Linked DNA regions of Homo sapiens: regions 1, 3, 4 and 5 are each linked to region 2. Evidence: promoter capture Hi-C in human tissues and cell types (Jung and others, 2019). All regions are on one chromosome and are shown on one strand. Each heading gives the region's core, a stretch centred on a gene start or on the middle of the fragment in contact. The rest is flanking DNA. Distances are from core to core; before and after follow the strand shown.

Region 1 (2,700 bases), core at 162-2,661, 270 kb after region 2:
TCAGATTCTGGGACTTGCATCACTGACACGCACCCCTCCTATGACTCTCCAGCCTTTGGCCTTGCACTAAATTACATTACCAACTGTCCAGGTTCTCCAGCTTGCAGACAGCACATCATGTGACTTCTTAGCCTCCATAATCACCTGGGCCAATTTCCATAATAAATCTCCATATATATATTGCCTATGGATTCTGTTTCTCTGGAGAACTCTGACAGGCAGACTTGTACCATAAAAGTACTAAGGTGCTTTGAAACTCCCATTAAAAGGGAAGTGCCTGAAAATTTTTTTAGGGTTAATAAAACCTTCAAGGACCAGAGTCCATTTTGTTTTATTTCTAACTACCTTCCTCCTCTGTCTCTTCTTTTTTCTTTTTAGCTTGTTTGTATTGACTAATTTTTCTAGCATAAACTATTTTATTTGTGTAACACAAAACTTATGCAGTTTTAGAAATCATGGTTATAGAATGTTGGAGCCAAAGGAACTCTAGAAATCAAACAACTTAAGCTCCTCAATTTACAGATAAGAAAACAGTGGGCCAGAGAAGTAAAGGTATTCTAAGATTCCACGGGCCAGCAGAATCAGAACAGAGTACAATCAAGGTTTCCAGATTCTAAATCTTGAGCTTCTTCTTTGCAAACTGGAAAATTATTATTGACACCTGGATGGAATGTCCTTTATGACAGCAATTCCAACCATAATAAAAATAATATAAACCTGAATGGAAAATTCCTTCCTATCTAGAATAAAATAAGACACAAAAGCAAAGCAAAGAACGCACAGTTCCTAGCAGGTGAGACCTGCCCTGTCATCCCATGAGATCCTGAGAAAAATCACTGGATTGTTCTGGAGCACAAATTCCTCATCTTTAAAATGAAACAAATAAAAGAGAGAAAAAAGATTATTTATGTAATGACCACTACATCACTGTGTTGTGCTGAGCACTTTACATATGTGTTCACTAGAATCAAAAATGTTAGAACAGTCCCGGCGTGGTGGCTCATGCCTGTATTTCCAGCACTTCGGGAGGCCGGGGCAGGCAGATCACCTGAGGTCAGGAGTTCGAGACCAGCCTGGCCAACATGGTGAAGCCCCATCTCTACTAAAAATACAAAAATTAGCCAAGTGTGATGGTGGGTGCCTGTAATCCCAGCTACTGGGGAGGCTGAGGCAGGAGAATTGCTTGAACCCAGGAAGCAGTGGTTGCAGTGAGCCGAGATCGCGCCACTGCACCCAAGCCTGGGCGACAGAGTGAGACTCCATCTCAAAAAAAAAAAAAAAAAAAAATTAAAAAAAAATAAGGTAATAACAAACAACAATAGCTAATGCTTACCAAATGCTTAAAACATGACTGGCACAGTTCTAAGAACTTTATCAATTCACCTATTTCTCACGATAACCCTACAAGGCAATAGTAGTCTCTTCTTCCCTCTCAATTTTAGATGAGAAAAATGAGACACAAGAGGTTATGTAACTTGTCTGTGATTTCAGAACTAGTAAGCAGAGAGAACCCCCTAAAAGCTGTTTCCAAACAAGAAGCTGATTAATTCTGATACTGTCTTACTGGCTAAACAAATATGCCACCGGTTGCATCCACAATTTGCCAACTGCATGGCATTTTATGATGTTCAAAAGACAAGGAGTTTAAGTACACAGGTTGTTTTTTTGCCAAAGTTAAGACATGAGCAGTATTAACTGTGCACACTTTGCATTTCAGAAAATTGGGTGTATCTTCAACCCCCCGGACCCCTAAACAAGCCGCCCAGGTGAGGCACCGGCACCCTCTTCCCAGGGGCTGATGTCAGACGTTTCTCTATCACTCTCCATTCTCCGCTTGAGCAGCAGCTCTCTGCGTCCGCCTCAACCTTCCCCCATACTTCTCACCTGAACCTGGCCCCACATTTCCCTGGGAAAAGTAAACCTTCTTTTCAAGCAGGAGGAGCTGGAATCCTAAACCTGCTGTCTGTACAAAAGCCACATGACTCTTGGAGCTCTAAGAGTTCTAAGTCCCTCAACAGTCACTAAATATTAGAAGACCATGGTGTGCCACCTGCTCTTACCCGAAGGCAAAACATGATTTGGTCTCGTAGGCAGCTCAACCATTATTTTTAACCTTGGATTTTGATTCTCTCCCCACATGTCATCCCTTATCCTGGCCTCCAAGTGTTGCCTTCTCCAATCCTATAACCAGTCACCTAGATTGACATTGATCATCAATCAGCCCCTAAGTCAAACTTAGGTGTGTTTCTTCTGATCTGCTCCAGGGCCTCGCTACGTCTTCACTGTGTGTGATGTCTCTTCTCCCAGTCCTGCTCCAGTCCATTCCCTCCACCTTTCTCTCAACACTGCAAACAAATCTGCCATCAATGACACCCACAAACCCTCACCCTCTTGTTCTTTCCTCACCCCAAAGGCCCATTAGACTCTTCACCCCTAAATCCCCCTCTTATCAGAGCTCCCACAATGGCAGCTTCAAAACAGACTATGCCACTGCTCAACAAGTATGAAATTGTCAAACTGTTCATCACAATGATCATTTTTTGAGTACCTGGTCTGCATCAGATACTACATACACATTATCCTTCATTTGAGGAGAAGCTTATTTTTCCCACTGTACCAAGGAGGAAAAAGTGTAGGTGCAGGAAACGTGGAGGCAGCATGGCAGATTTTAGGAATCCTGAAACCCTACATCAAAATAGA
Region 2 (2,700 bases), core at 70-2,569:
CCCGGGATGGAGCAGGTGAACTTGCCGGTGGTGGGGTCGTAGTGGTTTCCGAGGTTGGTGACCACGTCGTCGAACTTGAGCACCTCGTAGCCTTCATGCTGCCGCTTGAGGCCGGCGTAGAAGGCGATCTTGGGCACCGTGCTGTAGGTGGCGGCGCTGATGGCCCCGGCCGCGTTCAGGCCGGGCGCCCCGGGCGGGCCCGGCAGGCCTTGGCGGCCCGGCTCGCCCTTCTCGCCCGGGGGCCCCATGGGGCCGGGTGGCCCGGGCTCTCCGGGGGGCCCGCGCGGACCCGCCTTCCCGGGCCTGCCGGCCTCGCCTTTGGGGCCCTGGATGAAGGTGGGCAGGGACTGCATGAGGCCGCGGTCGGGCGTGGCAGCGGTGCTGGGCGCCTTGGTGCCCCCGTAGGGGTCGCAGACCATGCGGCAGGTGCCCAGCATCTCGTAGTGCGCCGACGTGCCGGCCGAGCTCACCAGCACCGGGATGAGGATCACCAGCAGCAGCACCATCACCACCCCCAGCGCCCCGGCGGCGATCAGGCGCCTCCTGCTGCCCACCAGCCGGCTCAGCGCGGGGCGATCCTCTTGTCTGCTTTTGGACAGAATTTTGAAGGTTGGGCGGGGACCTCTTCAGAGCCGAAAACAACCCCCTGCGAACCCCAACTCCCCTGGGCGTGCGTGCGCCGGCCGCTGCTGCCGACTCCTGCTCCCCCCGCGGAGGCTGCGGCTGGGGAGGGAGCGCGGGCGCCCAGTGACTTGAGCCGAAGTCCCGAGCCCGGGGTGGGGGCCGGGGGAGGGGTGCGCGGGGCGCCCTCGCCCCCCGCGAGCTCCTTCGCACCTGTGGCTGCAGCCGGCGCCGGCGCGGCCACCGGGAGGGCAGAGCCAGCCGCCGCCTCCTGAGCTCGCCCGGGCAGCTCACACTTTTATGCCGCCGCCGCCTGCGATCGACTTTTCCGTTTTTGCAGACTGCGCCTGTTCGCACCAACTTTCCGTCTGAAGTTGCCTTTTTCTGCCTCCTCCTCCTCTTCTTTCGCTCGCTCAGTTCGCCCGTCCGCTGCCTTTTTTTTTTATTGCCTCCTTTCTCTCTTCCTCCTTTGCCACCACCACAACTCGAATAGACGCGCACCCCAAAGCCCCGCGTGGGCCCGGGCGTCCCCCGGGTGCGCCCAGCGGCGGCGGCGGCGGGCACGGTCGGCACGGCGAGGCTCAGAGCTGGGGCGGAGGAGCGAGCGAGCAGCGGCGAGCGCCTCACGGCCGGGAGCGGAGCGAGAGAGAGACTGAAGGCAGAATTCTGCCTGGGTACCACCTGCCAGGAGAAGAGGAGGCTGACAAACGCGCGCCGGAGCAATTTATAGGCACCCAAGGCACAGAGGAAGGGGAGCCGCTTTGGCATCTCATTGCAGCATCTGCTCTGCTCATCCCACTCAGAGAGAGTTTGGCATTACTCTGACAATGTGGGATTTTTTTTTTTTTTTCGGCCTCTCTTTTTTTCTCTCTCTGCACATGGATGAACAGTGAGATTCTGAATACTCCCTTGCTGAACCAAGCGATGGCAGGTCCTGCTGGACCCACCTGGGGAAGGGAGACAGCTGTGCGACAGCTTTCAGAGCTCAAGGGTCACACCTAAATCCCCGATTTCCCCACTGCCAGCAGCCCCAGTTGGAGGGTGGAGGTGAAGGTTGAAAGGAGGGTGGCTGAGTTGACAGTTTCTTTGCTAGCTCCTCTACAATCAGTGCTTCAGGTGTTTTCAAAATGCCACTGTTAACAGAAGGAGGGCCTTTTAGAATTTTCCAGATGGTAGATGTGATTTTCTTTTAACCTGATGGTTTTCCTCCTCTGCCTTGTAAATGAATAAGATGTTGCCCCAAGAACAGTGAGGTATGTTGAAAAGCCAAAGAACATTTGTGAATGATTTTAAATGAACATGTCCACCGCCTCTGGGGGAGGAGGGGGTTGGTCCTTTTTACAAATGCTGCACCGTGGTGAGTGCATACATACGTACTGTGCTTACAGTCTTACAGTTCTAGCAGTCTTTCGGGGGATACCGCCAATGGCCCTGAAGTTGCGTTTACTTAAAGTCGCTAAATGTACAAGAAATAACCACTTGTCAAAATGGCGTCAAAAGATCAAGCAAGAAGCTTTTGCACAAGTGCTGGGCAAGGTCTTTTCCTAGCATATGGAAAGAGTTCTATAAGCTCCATAGCAGATTTCCCGAATATACATTGAGGGAGGGGAGAAGTAGGAGAAATACAAGAAAGAAGAGCCCCCATTCTCAGTGGGTGAGCTGCAGAAGGAACAGCATGGTTTATCATATTACTGGAAGGCCTCCAGGGTAGATATCAGGCAAGTTACCCCACCAACAAATACATAAGACACACAAGAATGGCTTTAAATAAATAAGTAGAATTGAATCCTAAATCATACTTTTGCATTCAGGAGCAACAGATGTCAATCAAACGTGGGTGACATTTGCTTGTCAATACGAGGATGATGGCTGGGAAGACGGTGACTTATTACATCAGGGTGAGAATCTGAAATGAGAAAAGCAGGAACAAATAAGACTACAGCAAGCAAACAGTAACATCCTGGGTGACGATCAGCAGCCTGTGATCTTGTCTGCGGGTGTCACAGCATGGACTTCTCCTTTCCTCCCTGTGCCTCAATCTCCCCGCCCCCCAGCCTACTCCAGTCCACCCCACCAATT
Region 3 (2,700 bases), core at 36-2,535, 330 kb before region 2:
TCAGTGATCTCTTTTGATTTCTATCCTGGGAGAGTGCAAGAACCTGGGGTTACCACTGAAATGTCTGACCTACAGAGAACAGCAATCATGGAACTCTTCAAGGATACTAGGGCTCCCCTCACAAATTTATTTCTGAAAGTATTGGTAAATGGTATGCCTTCTAGACCCTGCCCATGTGGGTGGTAAGTAGGTCTTCAATGATAAATCCAATTTAACATTCCGGTGTCTCTAAGCCTTTGAATCTCTTCCTCCATATTAAATCAAGGGAGATCCAACGTTTTTAATTCGCTCATACTGGGCCATCTTTTGATCCATGTTTCAGCAATAAACCAAACAAACTGAAAGAGCCCTTTCTAACTCCCTGAACTGGAACATTAAATGCAGAATCTCTTCTTAGTGAGTCCATATCAATAAATTCAGCCCAATTCAACTTTATGTTCCTTCCACCATTACCCTATACCCTTAATATCTATTCTATGTATGTCCCCCAGATTTTTGCTTGTGTGAATTAGAAAATTCAAGTAGTTAAGCTGAGCGCGGTGGCTCACGCCTGTAATCCCAACACTGTGGGAGGCTGAGAAGGGTGGATCACGAGGTTCAGGAGTTCAAAACCAGCCTGGCTGACATGGAGAAACCCCATCTGTACTCAAAATACAAAAATTAGCCAGATGTGGTAGTGTGCACCTGTAAACCCAGTTTCTCAGGAAGCTGAGGCAGGAGAATGGCTTGAACCTGGGAGGTGGAGGTTGGTGAGCTGAGATTGCACCACTGCACCCCAGCCCGCGCAACAAAGCGAGACTCCATCTCAAAAAAAAAAAAAAGATAAAGAAAATTCAAGAATTCAAGTAGTTCTTTTGGCATGTAGTACATCTCCGCATAAGTCATATTTTGTACCTTATCTTTAGGGGTCTGCTGAGACTTGAGTCTTGTTACAAGTCTAGAAGAAAAGAGCGGTAGCAGGGTGGATACTGAGGATAATCAGCATTATCTTACGTGGCAGCTGCCTCAGGGGAGGCCATTACCCTTTTCCTCAGTATTAGTACTCTCAGATGGTGGCGGAAAAGCTGATACCACTGTGGTAGCGGGGACCCAATTCCACCTGGGGTAGGGCAGCCACTTCCATTGGTGTGGGGAGACTGCTTTCAATGTCAAAGAAGATTCATCATAATTCAGGGGCTTAGTGTCCCCAGCTGCGTCAGGGTATTTCCACAGGCCCCCATCCCAACTTACATTTTTTCCCCAATAAGTTGCCCTCACTTTAACAGCAGTCACCCTGTAGAGCTGGGACTTCATCTCGCATTAAAATTCAGCCAATTGCAGGACGAAGTTCTTAATTTTCAGCAATTTCCACCCTGTGGCTACAAGTGATAATGCCCTCCTTCAGAGGACACTTAGAAACTCTTAGGTCATTTATGGGTCTCTTTCTCTCACTCTCTCTTTTTTTTTTTTTTTTTTTTGACACAGACTCTTGCTGTGTCACCTAGGCTGGAGTGCTATGGTGCAATTTCGGCTCACTAAAACCTCCACCTCCCAGGTTCAAGCAATTCTTATGCCTCAGGCTTCCGAGTGACTGGGGCTACAGGCATGTACCATCAAACCCGATTAATTTTTGTATTTTTAGTAGAGACGGGGTTTTGCCACGTTGCCCAGGTTCATTTATGAGTCTCTTGAGCTGGGAATTCAAATCCTTGAGTTCATTCATTTATTTCAACACTTTTTCCAATAACATTAGAAACAACCATCTGACATCATTATGTTCCTTAGTATTCAAAAAATGTCCAAAAGTATCAATCATATACAGAGTCACCAAACTCCTTGCTTCTTGTAAGTAGTTAATTATGAGTATCCAGTGCAGATAATATGCATGTCTCTATAAACAGATGATGGCTTAGACGATCAGTGCTCTCTTTACCACTGGAAATAGCATCACTATTGCCTTTAAATCTAATCAGATGTGAAAGCCAATTCCAGAAACCCTAGATCTAATTAAGAAAGTCATTATTAAAATTTGATTGCTCTATAAACACTCTCAGTACCAAAATCTGTATTAGTTAGGTTTCTCCAAAGAAACAGAACCTATGTAGAGATCTATAGATAGGTATCTATGTGCACACACACACACACACACATATATATATATACACAGACATACAGTCACCAACTTATGATGGTTTCACTTACGATTTTTCAACTTACTGATGGTATAAAAGTGGTATATTTTAATAAAATATTCAATATATTACATGAGATATTTAACAGATTGTTATAAAATAGGCTTTGTGTTAGATGCTTTGCCCAACTATAGGCTAATATAAATGTTCTGAGAATGTTTAAGGTAGGCTATGATGGTAGGTAGGTTAGGTGTATTAAATGCATTTTCACATTTCCACAATAAACATGACTTACGGGGCTATAACCCTTAAGTAGAGGAGAATCCAGGGGTATGGGTTTATTATGGTAATTGGCTCAGATGATTATGGAAGCCAACAGGTCCCACACTCTGCAATCTGCAACCTTGGAGAACCAGGAAGGCTGGTAGTGTTACTCAGTTTGAGTCTGAAGGCCTTAAACTGGGGCAGGGCTGATAGTGTTAAGTCCATGTCTGAGTCAGAAGGCCTGAGAACGAGGTGCTCCAATCTCCCAGGGCAGGAGAAGACGAATGACCCAATTTAAACAGAATGATTCACCCTTCCTCCACCG
Region 4 (2,700 bases), core at 125-2,624, 480 kb before region 2:
GGTAAATTACAACTCAGGAGAGAATTAGAAGAATATGTGAATTATTTTGAGGGAAAAAAATTAAATTTACATTCATATTGAGAGGAATTTGAAGGAAGTAGCAACATAACTGCTTTGTTGTGTGCTCTGATTAAAAGAGAAAGCAGGCCGAGAGTGGTGGCTCATGCCTGTAATCCCAGCACTTTGGGAGGCCGAGGTGGGAGGATCACTAGCTCAGGAGTTCGAGACCAGCCTGACCAACATGGTGAAACCTCGTTTCTACTAAAAATACAAAAATTAGCTGGGCATGGTGGCAGGCGCCTGTAATCCCAGCTACTCAGGAGGCTGAGGCAGGAGAATTGCTTGAACCCAGGAGGCGGAGGTTGCAGTGAGCTGAGAGCGTGCCACTGCACTCCAGCCTGGGCGACAGAGCAAGACTTTGTCTCAAAAAAAAGAGAAAACAAAAACTAAATATGTTATTCCAACTTTTGGAAAAATTTTTATTTAATACAAATGTGCTCAGGGCAAGAGTCTATATACACAAAGTATTTATATGTATTATATATATAAATCTATATTATATATATATAATTTGATATATATCTATTTTATTCAAATCAAATGAGACATCTCGCTTTCTGACATACAAGCATATGGTATGTAAATGTGATATGTACTTCCTAAAATAAAGAACTTTTTTATAAACCTCAATTTGGATGACTTGCATTGAGAAATGATATTTGATTAATATATTGTATGTAATTACTGCATTTGCTTTATTTTATATCCATGACACTTAATATGACTAACAAAGACATAGAACACAATATTGTCTTTTCGTACAGTTGCTGTGAAATCACACTGATAGCTGATGATAGACCATTCATTCAGTTGTTTTGAAACATTTTTCTTGAAGCTCTTCGGTGGCTTAAGTTTTCCCCTGACTACTGGTTCTAGAATAGGATTAAGTGAAATAGCCGGAATGTACCTCTCCATCTTCAGATTCAAGTGCATTTTTAAACACTTGCACTATGCCCATTTTTAAAAGAAATGAGATTAGTCATACATAAGGCCAGAAAAAAATTTCTTTATTATGGATTGGCTAGGTATTTGATTTCTTTATATTGGGCTCTAATCAATTTCAAATTGCAGTAGCTTTCATTTCTGAAATGGGGACTGAATCGGGCAGTTTCCCTTGCAAAGTCTGAATTCCCGGTTCCTCAAACGGTTCTCAATCTGAGCATGGTGGACCTCTCCAAGGAACTATCAGCAGGTTAGTCATAAATCAGAGAGCCTTCTGTTTACCCCTATGACTGATCTCTAGGAACAGGATCAATGCGCTTCATTCCTGAAACCTGAAAACAAGTATCTGTGAGAGAGGATGTCAAGAAAGACAATATTTTAAAAGGTCAAACCTTAATTCACCTTGGTTCCCAGAAATATTCCTTACAGCTTTTTGATGAAAACAATTTCCTAGCCTTTGATGATTACATTCTAACAGCCCTGCAGTCAGGAACATTAAAAGTAGTTATAGGCTCATTTTTATTCCAAAAATTCTTAGCACTGCTAAATCAACATCCCCCTTTTCAAGCCCAGAAACAAAGGTAACAACTGACCAATTTCTAGAATATAAGTTCTCATATAAATTCTGATATAAAAGTATATTCAGGAGGTAGCTTTTGTTGAAAATAAGGGTAATGTCATTTCTAAGATGCATGTGTAGTATGTAAAATATATGCAGTGAAAGAAACTAAAAGAAGCATATTTTATTCTATTTTATCGTTTTGCTTGATGCTTCAGTGACAATTATGTTGAAAACTTTCTCTTGCAATTCATCTGTGTAAAATATCAGTAAGATTACACCTTCAGGATGAAATCAGGAGAAAAATCTTTTCATTTTTACTACTTTAAGATGTATTTCTTGTCCCAGAGCCCACCATTTTTCAAGGTATGTAGTTTGAAGAAATAGCATTAACAACTTTTTGCATAAAAAAACTTTCATGAATGCAAACTTTGAGTGATTTTCTGGTAAATCTAATTTATTTAAATTAGCTTTATTTAATTACCCATACAGCTGTTCTGTGCCCTGAATATAGCCCAAGGGACTATTTAAAGTGCTTAAGTCTAAATGTCATGTTTTATCACTATATAACATGTAGCAAACTACAACAAAAAAATTTTGTTGTTCACTGGGTAGTACTTCAAGAATATGGCATTCCTTTCTTTTTTTCTCTGATATGATAGTAGTTACAAAGCTACAAGCTAAATATAAGTAGGATTGACTTTTTTTTAACACTGTCATGTCATCATTCAAGTTACAGCTATATCCTTGCTGAGAGAAGACTCTTCCATTCCAATAGTTTTAATTACCATCTATACCTAGAGTTTTCAAGATCCATATCACAGCCCACTTTTCTTTCTCGTTCTCTAGACCCTACATCCAATGTCAACTGAACGTCTCCTCTTAAATGGTCCACATGTCCAAAGTGGAATTCACCATCTTTCTTTCAAAAAGATCATCTTGTTGTATTCTAACATCAACAAATGGGGCTTCATTTACCGTTTAGATGACTGGTTCTAAGATGATTTAGGGCATAAGATGGCTTAGAGCTGACATCACCTCTATCCTTACATGGAACAAACTGTAGGCAATATCACTACTTAGCATACTAGAAAGGGCTTGGACTCTGAAGTCAGATGACCTGGGTCTGAATCGCAGCC
Region 5 (2,700 bases), core at 39-2,538, 380 kb before region 2:
TTGCCTTCCTCACTTTTTTAATAACAGCCCAAGAAATGCAGCGCGGGAAGCATCAGGATGGGGAAGAGGATGGCTTTCTTTTATGGATTCCAAGAAGGTTGTGAGAAAAGGGAATATAGGAAAAGTGAACTTGAAGACCTGAAAATCAGTAACTTTGAGATCATTAACTTTAAAATCACCCTAAGCAGTGAATCCCACAGAAAGTCCCTGAATACCTGTGTGGGGAGCTGTCCCCAAGTTGAATCACTCTGCTCTAGAATAGACAAAATGGGGTTTTAAGGCAATAGTGGTCACACACACCCAGCCATAAGCTAGACCTAAGTGTGATGGCCAGCTGGCACTCAATCTGCTTCTGACTCCTTCTCCCTTCCTCTTACTTAGTTTTCCTCTTTTGCACTCTCCCCTTTCATCTTTGGCTTTTTCTTCTACCTATCCCATTTTTCACCCCTCCGGTTTGGCAGCTGTCTCTTTATCCAGCTGTTGTCCTGCTTTTTCTTCCTTTCACTCTCTGATTTATCTTTCCTTCCTATCCTCCCCTTCCTCCTTGCATCCTCATTCTCTTTTTGACAGACATGAATTCAAGTTTTTAAGTTTGTGCAATTTTTAGAGTGGTTTTAGGTTTACAGAAAAATTGTGCAGAATGTACAGAGAGTTCCCATAGCCCATATCCATCCCTCCCTCCCCCTATGTTAACAGCCTGCATTAGTGGGTTACCTTGTTACAGCTGATATGCCAATTCTGAGACATAATTATTAACTAAACCCCACAGTTCATATGAAGGGCGACTCTTTTTGTTGTGTGCTTCTGTGGATTTTGACAAATGTCATGTATCTATGATTACACATTATATAGAACAGTGTCGCTGCCCGAAAAAGTTTCCTATGTTCCATCTCTTCATCACTCGTTCCTTCCCCCTGCAATTACTTTTTCTTAAAAACTAATACCCACAACTTCACCTATGTGGCCATCGACAAAAAACAAAGTTGATTTATCTCCAGGCAGTCTTGTAGGTGTTTAAGAACAGTAACTCATATTCCATTCATTATTTCATTTGATTAGTATAATAATTGTCACCACTTTAGGGATGAATCTATTGAATCTCCGAAAATCCAAATGACTTGTTCAAGGCTATACGACTAATTGAGGATGGGTGTGGATGGAGCCAGTATGCATATTTGCTGATGGTTGACCAATGGTCTCTCCATGCTACCGCTTCTCAATTGCCCTGAGCTTTATCAGAGACGACGGGAGTGTGTTAAGGAGGACACCGATTTGTGGTTCATGACTTTCAAGGATTCTGACAGTCCTCATCTATAATACATTTATCAAAAGGTACAGCTCAAGTGCTCTTATGCAGACTTTGATGATGCACGGAAGCATTTAATAACTTATATCTCTAAAAATTTACTTCATGTGAACTTTTAAATATTATCCTATCATATCATCCCTAGATTAGATTATTTCCTCCTGCCCTCAACCCACCCTCCCAATATTTAGGGGTTTGTTATTCTTAGTAGAGTGCCAGTACCATATATTTTACAATCAAACCAAATTCAAATAGGAACTTCTCAGCACTTTTAGTTTCAACTGCAATCTCTTAGCCATACATTTTTGTTTCATGTTGTTCAGACATTCTGTATACTGCTGATTCACACACAAAGGGTAGCTTTTTGCCCTGGGTAAAGACAGGCTCAGCCGTGCTCGTTTTTTAGTTTTTACTAACACTCTCCATGCGATGCAGAGAGCACAGTTTTGTTTATGCTGACAGCTGTGTGTGAATATTTTTACTATTTTGAGATGTGAACAGGTTGACTTCTTGGGTGTACAGGCAAGAGAGTACATTGTTATTGGCACAGTAGCACTTCCTTGCAGATTAATAATAGATTTTCTTAATTCGGACTTTTTTCAGTGATACTACCAGATCACAAAAGGTATAATAATCATATTTAAGTTCCAAAATTTTTCACCAAATGCAACGATGAAAAAAATGTTAATGTAATTAGTTAAGTGATTACTCATGTAGCAGACAGAAATAAAGGTAGGATATTGCAGGAAATCATATTCGAGCCAGATTCCTTGTCCCAAGTCTCAATTCTGCTTTAAGATAGACACTTTTAGGAGCTGTTCCTTCATTCAAATGACTAGGATACAAGTACATCAGTACTTCAGCTCACTTACTTCAGCTCCCTGAAAGATATCCATTGGTCAATGTATCTTATGTTTTGAAGTTGGACCATGAAAACAATTCAACTTGTTCTACTAGTCATGCAACTTATTTTTAAAGTGTTAATAGGCCTTACTTTTAGAGCAGTTGTAGGACTGTAGAAATACTGCACACAAAGTACAGGGAGTTCCCAGGTACCTCCTCTCCCCCTTGTTACCAAAATGCTAGGGTTTTGGTCTACGTCCTGCTGTTTGCTGCACAGAAAGCCAATCACTGAGACAATGAGTATTGCCAGGGAAGAAGGCTTTATTCTGGTGCTGCAGCTGAAGAAATAGGAGATCAGTCTCAAATCCACCTTATAACCAACTAAAACTAGGGGTTTATATAGCATGGAATAATTGTAACCATTTGTGGGAAAATAGGAGTTAGGGAGGGGTAAGGAAGAGGAGTTGAATCACATGCAATGCGGGTGAGAATGTAAATTAGTTCAGCCACTGTGGAAAGCAGTTTGAAGATTTCTCAAAGAACTTAAAACA

The links. The method cuts DNA at HindIII sites, captures the fragments that hold promoters and counts their contacts. A contact is called where the count stands out against the background at its distance.
Region 1: a contact is called between a fragment that was not itself captured here and the fragment with the promoter of C1QL3 in region 2, in 3 of the 25 tissues and cell types used here (H1 embryonic stem cells, heart left ventricle and mesendoderm cells).
Region 3: a contact is called between a fragment that was not itself captured here and the fragment with the promoter of C1QL3 in region 2, in 2 of the 25 tissues and cell types used here (H1 embryonic stem cells and lymphoblastoid cells).
Region 4: a fragment that was not itself captured here is called in contact with the fragment with the promoter of C1QL3 in region 2 in 1 of the 25 tissues and cell types used here (aorta).
Region 5: a contact is called between a fragment that was not itself captured here and the fragment with the promoter of C1QL3 in region 2, in 2 of the 25 tissues and cell types used here (heart right ventricle and hippocampus).

What each region holds. Positions count from the first base shown.
Region 1 is chr10:16,794,088-16,796,787 of GRCh38, forward strand. All of the region lies in intron 2 of RSU1 (Ras suppressor protein 1), which reads right to left. Among named protein-coding and RNA genes, the nearest start is that of RSU1, 22 kb to the right of the region's middle. RefSeq lists enhancers at 1,380-1,599, 1,810-1,869. The HindIII fragment of the contact is 4,697 bases long and covers 1-2,700 here.
Region 2 is chr10:16,520,560-16,523,259 of GRCh38, forward strand. C1QL3 (complement C1q like 3) reads right to left here and starts at 1,320. Exons shown (of 2, transcript NM_001010908.2): 1 at 1-1,320. The coding sequence starts at 506. RefSeq lists silencers at 171-230, 541-760, 1,031-1,260. The HindIII fragment of the contact is 8,174 bases long and covers 1-2,700 here.
Region 3 is chr10:16,189,934-16,192,633 of GRCh38, forward strand. No RefSeq gene overlaps it. Among named protein-coding and RNA genes, the nearest start is that of LINC02654, 87 kb to the right of the region's middle. The HindIII fragment of the contact is 5,472 bases long and covers 1-2,700 here.
Region 4 is chr10:16,040,645-16,043,344 of GRCh38, forward strand. No RefSeq gene overlaps it. Among named protein-coding and RNA genes, the nearest start is that of MINDY3, 180 kb to the left of the region's middle. The HindIII fragment of the contact is 6,419 bases long and covers 1-2,700 here.
Region 5 is chr10:16,143,913-16,146,612 of GRCh38, forward strand. No RefSeq gene overlaps it. Among named protein-coding and RNA genes, the nearest start is that of LINC02654, 130 kb to the right of the region's middle. The HindIII fragment of the contact is 6,202 bases long and covers 1-2,700 here.